Linked DNA regions of Homo sapiens: region 2 is linked to region 1. The links are contacts of gene promoters, found by promoter capture Hi-C in blood cells and fetal thymus (Javierre and others, 2016). All regions are on one chromosome and are shown on one strand. Each heading gives the region's core, a stretch centred on a gene start or on the middle of the fragment in contact. The rest is flanking DNA. Distances are from core to core; before and after follow the strand shown.

What was found. Contacts are between HindIII fragments. The CHiCAGO score rates a contact against its expected background, and 5 or more counts as called.
Region 2: a contact is called between a fragment that was not itself captured here and the fragment with the promoter of AMBP in region 1, in 1 of 17 cell types (endothelial precursors). The highest score is 5.1, in endothelial precursors.

The regions. Positions count from the first base shown.
Region 1 is chr9:114,076,471-114,080,594 of GRCh38, reverse strand. AMBP (alpha-1-microglobulin/bikunin precursor) reads left to right here and starts at 2,295. Exons shown (of 10, transcript NM_001633.4): 1 at 2,295-2,502; 2 at 3,855-3,997. The coding sequence starts at 2,386. It overlaps LOC107987120 (a long non-coding RNA gene), which reads left to right. Exons shown (of 3, transcript XR_001746905.1): 3 at 1-655. The HindIII fragment of the contact is 5,279 bases long and covers 1,702-4,124 here.
Region 2 is chr9:113,716,955-113,721,078 of GRCh38, reverse strand. No RefSeq gene overlaps it. Among named protein-coding and RNA genes, the nearest start is that of ZNF618, 160 kb to the left of the region's middle. The HindIII fragment of the contact is 2,484 bases long and covers 1,198-3,681 here.

The DNA.
Region 1 (4,124 bases), core at 1,046-3,545:
AGTGGTCTTTAGCGAGGGAAAGCCACCTCCAATATCATGCAGAACAAGGAGAAGTTGGGGGCTACCACCTCCTCATTACCATCATTAACTAAAACATCAAAGATTGAGAAACTTTGTGAACACAAGGAACACGAAGATAACTGTCCCAGAAAGCTAAACCAAGACAGTAACTGTGCTTAAACTTACATCATGGCTTTGAGCTTCCTAGCAGCCAAAGCAAGAAGGGAATATAATCACTGGCCAAGGTTAGGGTGACGGAGCAAAGGAAACACATTTATGAATAGAAGCACACTTGTTCTGGATACCAGTGAAAGAGGGATGTACTGACTGAATCTTACAGAAGGGACATGATACACCATTTGTTTCTGCACTGACTACATGGGGGAATCCTTTGATTCTCACATAAGCAGGGGTCTTAATCTTGGGACTGCCTGCCCGAAGGGGTCATTCCCAGCTCTAACAGAGAGGTGGCTGAGAGTATGGAATGTTCCATGCCAAGAGCAGGGAGGAAGTAAGGACAGTAGATTTAACCACTGGAGAAGGGAAATTCATAGAGAGGCCTTTGGTATTGCTGGCAAGAGTGTGAGCTCACAGACAACGGACCTGGGTTTTAAAAAATTCTCATTTAAAATCTTAAATTTAGGCTGAGCGCAGTGGCTTACGCCTGTAATCCCAGCACTTTGGGAGGCTGAGGTGAGAGGATCACCTGAGGTCAGGAGTTAGAGACCAGTCTGGCCAATATGGTGAAACGCTGTCTCTACTAAAAATACAAAAATTAGCCAGGCATGGTGGTGGGCACCTGTAATCTCAGCTACTCGGGAGGCTGAGGCACAAGAATCACTTCAGCCCAGAATGTGGAGGTTGCAGTGAGCCGAGATCGCACCACTGCACTCCAGCCTGGGCGACAAGAGTGAAACTCCGTCTCAAAATAATAAATAAATAAATAAAACCTTAAGTTTAATAACTACTGTATTAGTTTCCTAGGGCTGCTAGGAAATGTGTCTTCTCTCAGCACTGGAGGTCAGACACCTGAGACCAAATTTTCAGCAGAGCCATGTTCCCTTTGAAGATTCTGGGGAAAAGTCCTTCCTTGCCTTTTGCTAGCTTTTGGTGGCTGCCATCAATCCTTGGTGATTTTTGACGTGTCACTGCATCCCTCCCATCTCTGCCTTCGGCGTCACGCCACATCTTCCCCGTGCTTCTCTCTGTGTCCCTGTGTCTGAGTCTCCCTCACCATTCTCTTATAAAGATACCGGTCATTGGATTTAAAACCCCTGTCATCCAGTTCAACCTCATCTAACTAATCACATCTGCAAATCAGGTTCATTCTGCGGTTCGGGGTGCACATGGATTCTGGAGGGGGCACTGTTCAACCCACCACAAACACTCAGCTCTTACTCTATGCTGGGTACTGTCCTAGCGCATTGCAGGTGCTCACTCAACAATGCTAGGAGCTAGGAACTATTATTATCCCCATTTACAGATGAGGAAACCAAGGCACTGAAAGGTAAAGTGACTTGCCCAAGGTCACACAGCAGTGAGTGCCACTGTAGGCTGCCTGGCTCCCACGTCCATGGTCTCTACCACGCCTTTCCCAGCTACTCCACTCCCGGCTGAGGGATTCTGGGCAAGTCACTTCACTTCTTGGAGACTCAACTCCTCTGCCTGTAAAGGGGACAAATAGCACCTACTTCGTAAGCTTGTTGTGGGGATTTACTGGACACCTGTGGCACGTGTAAAGTGCCTGGTACACAGCCAGCACATAGCAGGTGCTCAGTGAACGGAAGCTCGTAACAGTCATCATTGTTAATGTCTCTATTATTTGCAAAGGCTAGGGCAAGCCTGGGGGCTGGAGAAGGAACTCTGGAGACAGGATACCTGGGTTCTGGTCTTGGCTCTGCCCATAGACTTCCCTGAGGTCTCTGGCAAGTCACTTCCTCTCCTTGGGCCTCAGTTTTTTCCTGTGAGAAATGGGCCCAATCAGGCTTGACCTGCTGGCTCACAGAGCTGTGAGGTCCAGATGGCATGACTCAGCAGAAAGGCCAGGTCGCTCCCCATCCTCGCATGCCCTCTGTGGGGGACTTTTGGGGGGCGGAGCCCAATCCTGGTGCTCCAGGGCCCTATTGTGCTTGGCCAATGCCTCTTCTGAAGCAGCCATCCCGGCCTCTTGGTACTGCTGACCCCAGCCAGGCTACAGGGATCGATTGGAGCTGTCCTTGGGGCTGTAATTGGCCCCAGCTGAGCAGGGCAAACACTGAGGTCAACTACAAGCCACAGGCCCCTTCCCCAGCCTCAGTTCACAGCTGCCCTGTTGCAGGGAGGCGGTGGCCCTTCTGTTGCTAGACCGAGCCTGTGGGATATACCAAGGCAGAGGAGCCCATAGCCATGAGGAGCCTCGGGGCCCTGCTCTTGCTGCTGAGCGCCTGCCTGGCGGTGAGCGCTGGCCCTGTGCCAACGCCGCCCGACAACATCCAAGTGCAGGAAAACTTCAATATCTCTCGGGTAAGGCTGCCGCTCTCTGTGGTAGGGTGGATGTGGTGATGGGGAGTCCAGGCAGATGGGCCCTGCTGGGCAAGTGCGGCCTGTCTCGGGGTCTCAGGCTTCCACTCAGATCATCTGGGATTATGGGATCCTTTGAAGGTACAGCTCTATCCCCTGCCATTCCGTGGGTCTCTTGGCTGACATTCTATGAGTCAAACATCCTCACCTTCTGCACTGTCCTCGTGGGCTCCAAGGGGAACCCTTGTGTTAATGGGAACCTGCTCCAGAGAAGGCTTTGTCCTGCCTGCCACTGCCCTGCAGCCCCCGTGCAGACACCTAGCTTTGCCCAGACCTCCCAGCCCTTCCTTCTCTAATGACTCCCCTCTCTCTGTGGCATCTTTCCCTTAGCTCTTCCTGTGTCCCCTGCCCACATCCTGGCCTGACTGTGGACAGACACCTGGGGTGGCACAGCGTGGGCATGTGGCCAGCAGCTTTTGGGTTGGGCATGTGGGGCTTATGGGAAGAGGTGAAGCAGGACAGAGATTAGGGTTGGGAGACATTCAGAGGCTTGGGCACAAGGAGAGACCTGGACTGGGGCAGGACACTCTCCTGTGAGTGTGGAGTGCCAGAGCTGCCTTCCAGCCCCCACTCTGCCCTAAATCCCGGGGTGGCTTTGAGAATACCCTTGCCCACCTGGGGCTGTCTCCATGTCTGTATGAAGGGTCTCAGAACCTTCTAGCTGTGGTGTCATGTGGGTTTTGTTTACTTTTAGGGACAAGGAAAGGTCGTGGCAGAGGGGCAATGAGGAGCAGGTCCCTGTGGCAGTCTGGGACGCAAAGGGTGTGGGGCACATTGGCCTGTTCCGTAGGAGCCTGAGGGCTCCTTCAGCTGTCCCGTGCACTTTCAGGAGGAAGAGGAAGCAGGCCTATCCTGAATGACCCCATCATGTTCATTATACTTTTGAAATAATTCCTAACATGGGGCTGTGGGCTGCCTTGCAAGGTGGGGAGCACCCCATCATTGGAGGAGTAAAAGACAGGACTCCAGCTCTTGGGGAGCAGTGGTTGATGGAGCTATGGACAGATCCCACATCTTGAGAGAGTTAGCCCTTCTGCAGGGCAGGTTGGGACCCCAGCCGCACACCTGCTTCCTGGGTTCGCTGTGATGCCTGAAACGCCACTCTTAGGGATCTGGCCTCCCTTGAAGGTGTGTGGCCTCTGATTAGTTGTAAGACATTATCCCTTAAAAGGATAAGTCATTTTGAGGAGAAGGAGGAGGAAGAGGAGGAGGTGGAGGGTGGGGAGCAGATGTCAGCCAGGTCTGCTTTGAGGTCTGAGACTGATGCAGACCCCCAGAGCTCACCTGCCTCCTAGATCTATGGGAAGTGGTACAACCTGGCCATCGGTTCCACCTGCCCCTGGCTGAAGAAGATCATGGACAGGATGACAGTGAGCACGCTGGTGCTGGGAGAGGGCGCTACAGAGGCGGAGATCAGCATGACCAGCACTCGTTGGCGGTGAGCACTAGGGTGGGGCTGGAAAGCTGAGAGAGACCCAGAGACCCACAACCTTCCCAGCCCCGTCCATCCTGGGAAGTTGCAGATCTCTGCTTCCAGTCAGGACCTTCCCGCTGAACCCCAGATC
Region 2 (4,124 bases), core at 1,190-3,689, 360 kb after region 1:
GTCCTTTTCATACTGAAAAGTGGCCTGATCTCAGCTCATTGCAACCTCTGTCTCCAGAGTTCAAGTGATTATTTTGCCTGTCCCCTGAGTAGCTGGGATTACAGGCATGCACCACCATGCCTGGCTAATTTTTGTATTTTTAGTAGAGACAGGGTTTCACCATGTTGGCCAGGCTGGTCTCAAACTACTGACCTCAAGTGATCTGCTCACCTTGGCCTCCCAAAGTACTGAGATTACAGCGCCCAGCCCCCAGTACGATGCTGAATAGAAGTGGCAAGAGTGAACATCCTTGTCTTGTTCCTGATCTTAGGGGGAAAGCTTTCAGTTATTCAGCATTATGATGTCAGCTGTGGGTTTTTAACACATGCCCTTTATCATGTTGAGGAAGTTCTCTGCTGTTCCCAGTGTGTTGTTTTTGTCGTGAACACCCTACTTCTCATTCACTTATTCCACAACACCTACTGAGGTTCCTGCTGCATGCCACATCCTGTGCTGTGTGCTGGGAATAGGACAGCCAGGTCGCTTCTCTTTTCTAGCTCACACTGAAGTTGGGGAGGGGGACACCTAGACAGAAAAATAGAACAAAGAATTGTACCTGGCTTAAGGAGGGATAATAGAAGGGGACCTACTCCTGTTTGGATGAAAGGAGAGGTGTCTTGATTTGGGTTCCCTGAAAGCCCAACCTGAGGCAAGGACATGGGAGCAGGGGGTTTATCTGGGCAATGATCTCGGGGCACAGAGCCGAGGAGTGCAGAGCAGAAGAAGGGAAAGAAGCAAAGCCAATGCAGGTGTGGAACCCAGCTGGATATACTTAGGGCCACCCAGGGCTCAATTCAAGGAGACTGAAGAATTGTTCAGAATATGCCTCAGAATTGTCCTTCCAAAGGAAGGAAGGAAGGGTGGAGCCAAAAGCTTCAGCAGGTACTTGGAGTGGAAGCCTGGTGGTAGGACACAGGTGATGTGCATGAGAACTGCCTGTTCCAGCTCCAGCTGCAGATGGAGGCGGGAGTGCCAGGAGGTGGCACAGACACTAATGGCATTTCCTAGAAGGGGCCAGGGAAGCTTTCCAGGAAGAGCAGCTCTGTGATAGCCTGAAAATGGAGAGAAATGAGCTGGATAGAGTAGGCAGGGGACAGACCCTGCAGGGTACATTAGTTGGCTCAGCCACACTAACAAAATATCTCAAATTGGGAAGCTTAAACAATAGAAATGCATTTTCTCACAGTTCTGGAGACTGGGAAGTCTAGGATCGAGGTTCCAACCAATTCAGATTTTAGTGAGGACTCTTCCTGGCTGATACATGGCCGCCTTCTCGCTGTGTCCTCACATGGCAGAGAGTGAACTCCCTGGTGTCTCCTCTTCCTCTTTTTAGGACACTGATCCCATCAGATCAGGACTCTACCCTTACAAGCTCATTAAACTTTTATTACTTCTTAAAGACCCTATATCCAAATAGTCACACTGGGGTTTGGACTTCAACATATAAGTTCTAGGGAGAGACACAATTCGGTCCACAGCACAGGACTTTGGACACTGTCCTTGGGGCAGGAGGGGAAGCAGTGAAGGATTTTAAGCCTAGAAACAGCACTGTGAAACTTGCTTTCAGTTGACGCCTCTGGTCATGGTGCAGAGAATGTTCAGAAGGGAGGGGAGAGTGAAAGCACAGATACTATAGAGGTCCAGGCCAGAGCTGATGGGCCCACAGTTGAGGCAGGGGAGAGGAGAACAGCAGCCAGATCTGAGAGCCATCAGAGGGCAGCTCAATGGGAGGCATCGATGACTGAACGTGGGCCGTGAGGGAGAGAGAAATCAGAGATATTGCCCAGTTTTCCAGCTTAAGCAGTTAGGTGTCTGGTGGTGTCATTGACAGAGACAGGGAATCCAAAAGGAGGAGATGAACAGCATGAGGTCAGTTTTGGACCTGGGGAAGAGAGGTCCTGCAAGATAGCTCTAGCATTATTTTGCCACCGCTTGGAGCCAAGCTGACATGCTTTCCTTCCTGTAAAATTTTCTGGCTTCAGTAGGTACTCAAGAAGTGTTTGTTGATTGAATAAATGACTGATTGTTGGCCCACATAGATCCATTGCTCACTTTGTTCTTTGTTCTTTTATTTCTTCTCTTTATCAATTTAAATCTTGCCCTTCCCATCAAGAGCCTCCTTCTCCAGGAGCCACCAACTCTATGGCCAATCTGTAGACCCCAGGACACAGGCCACAAGAAACCTTGTGGGAGGGGATTGGGGTAACATACATTTGGCTGCATCATCTGGAGACAGCCCCCAGGGTTCAGAACAGTTGTATCTTCTGCCCTGACATACATACAGGGACATTGGAGGGCCTCCAGGGCAGGGCCCAGGCTCAGAGGAAGCCTTCGTAGTGGAACTTGGTCAGTTGAGGAGCACAGAGCTCTCTGGCCCAGATTGTTTCCTGTCTGCTCACCCAAGTGAAGGACTCAGTGAAAGCAGCCATGAAGCCCAAAGGTACTGCCAAGGAGGCTAGAATGGAGCATGCACTTGCTTGTGGTATGGGTCAGTGTGGCAGATGTCAGTGGCCAGGAAGGAGCTAAGGAGGAGAAAACATTCCTCCTCTCTTCCAAGGCTAAGGAACAAGCAGTGATAGACATGCTGGGGAGGGCAGCTCTGGCGCTTTTCCAAGTGCTTGTTCGGGTGCATTGCCATGTTCTTGGGACAGTCATGTGCCTGCTGCACCCACTGGCTTGCTTTTCTCATTGTACCCAGTGCACTGTATATTCAAGTTTCACCTCCCTGCCTTCGCTTCTGCAGTACAATCATCCATAACACTCTCTCCAGTTCTCCCTCCCCATTACATCCTAGCCAACATGCAGAGCCTGAATCAAGGAGACACTCAATCCTTCTCAACGGGTTTTTTTTGTTTTTTTTTTTTGAGATGGAATCTTGCTCTGTCGCCCAGGCTAGAGTGCAGTGGCACGACCTCGGCTCACTGCAAGCTCCACCTCCTGGGTTCATGCCATTCCCCTGTCTCAGCCTCCCGAGTAGCTGACTACAGGCGCCCACGACCACGCCCAGCTAATTTTTTGTATTTTTAGTAAAGACAGGGTTTCACCATGTTAGCCAGGATGGTCTCGATCTCCCGACCTCGTGATCCACCCATCTCGGCCTCCCAAACTGCTGGGATCACAGGCGTGAGCCCCCGCACCCAGCATTTCAGCGGTTACTTTTCTGATTAAGTGACACTTCCCCCAGGAAGACTTCCCTGCATCTTCCAGCCCCTTCCACTCTCTCCCCACTGAGTACCTATAATCCTTCATCTGAGGCGGCCGGTAGAGTTTACAGGTTCAAAGCCCAGACTCTGAATTCAGCTGGTCTAGATTCAAAGTCTGATTCTACCACTTAACAGCAGCAAGAGTCTGGGCAAATTATTTAACATCTCTATGCTGCAGTTTTCTCACCTGTCAACTAGTGTTAATAATAGTTTCTACCCCACAGAGCCCTTGGAGGGATTAAGTGAAACAATAGCTGTGAAGTATTAGCTGTCTGTGTCCCTAAGCCCAGCTGCCAAACATGGCATCCCCTGTCCAACCAGTGAGAAGAATAGAAATCCATCACTTGGGGATCTTTGTTACAGGAAAACCGAAAACAAAGGTCCAAATCTTGGAGCTGAGTTATTGAACAGCTTAGACTAATTTGGAGCCCATCAAGCTTGGATTTGAATCCTGGCTCTGCCAGCCCTGTGAGCTTTTGCAAGTTATTCCATTGGTCTTAGCTTCAGTTTCTTCATCTGTAAAATGGGCATAATCATGCCCACTTTACAACATTCTAGAAGGGATAAAATGAGATGATGTTTGCATAGTGGAACTGTGGTGCATCAACAAACACCCTCCTTCATGTTGGAGGAGCTCATGCCCCAGAGTACTGTGAGAACAGGTAACATAACTCTCAATTCAGACACCCTGTCTTTGTCCATTTGTGCTGCTGTAACAAACTACCTCAGACTGGATAACCTAGAAAGAACAGGAATTTATTTCTCACAGTTCTGGAGACTGGGAAGTCCAAAATCAAGGTGCCAGTGGATTCCATGTCTGGTGAGGACTGCTCTCTGCTACCAAGATGGTACTTTGTAGCTGTGTCCTCGCATGGCAGAATA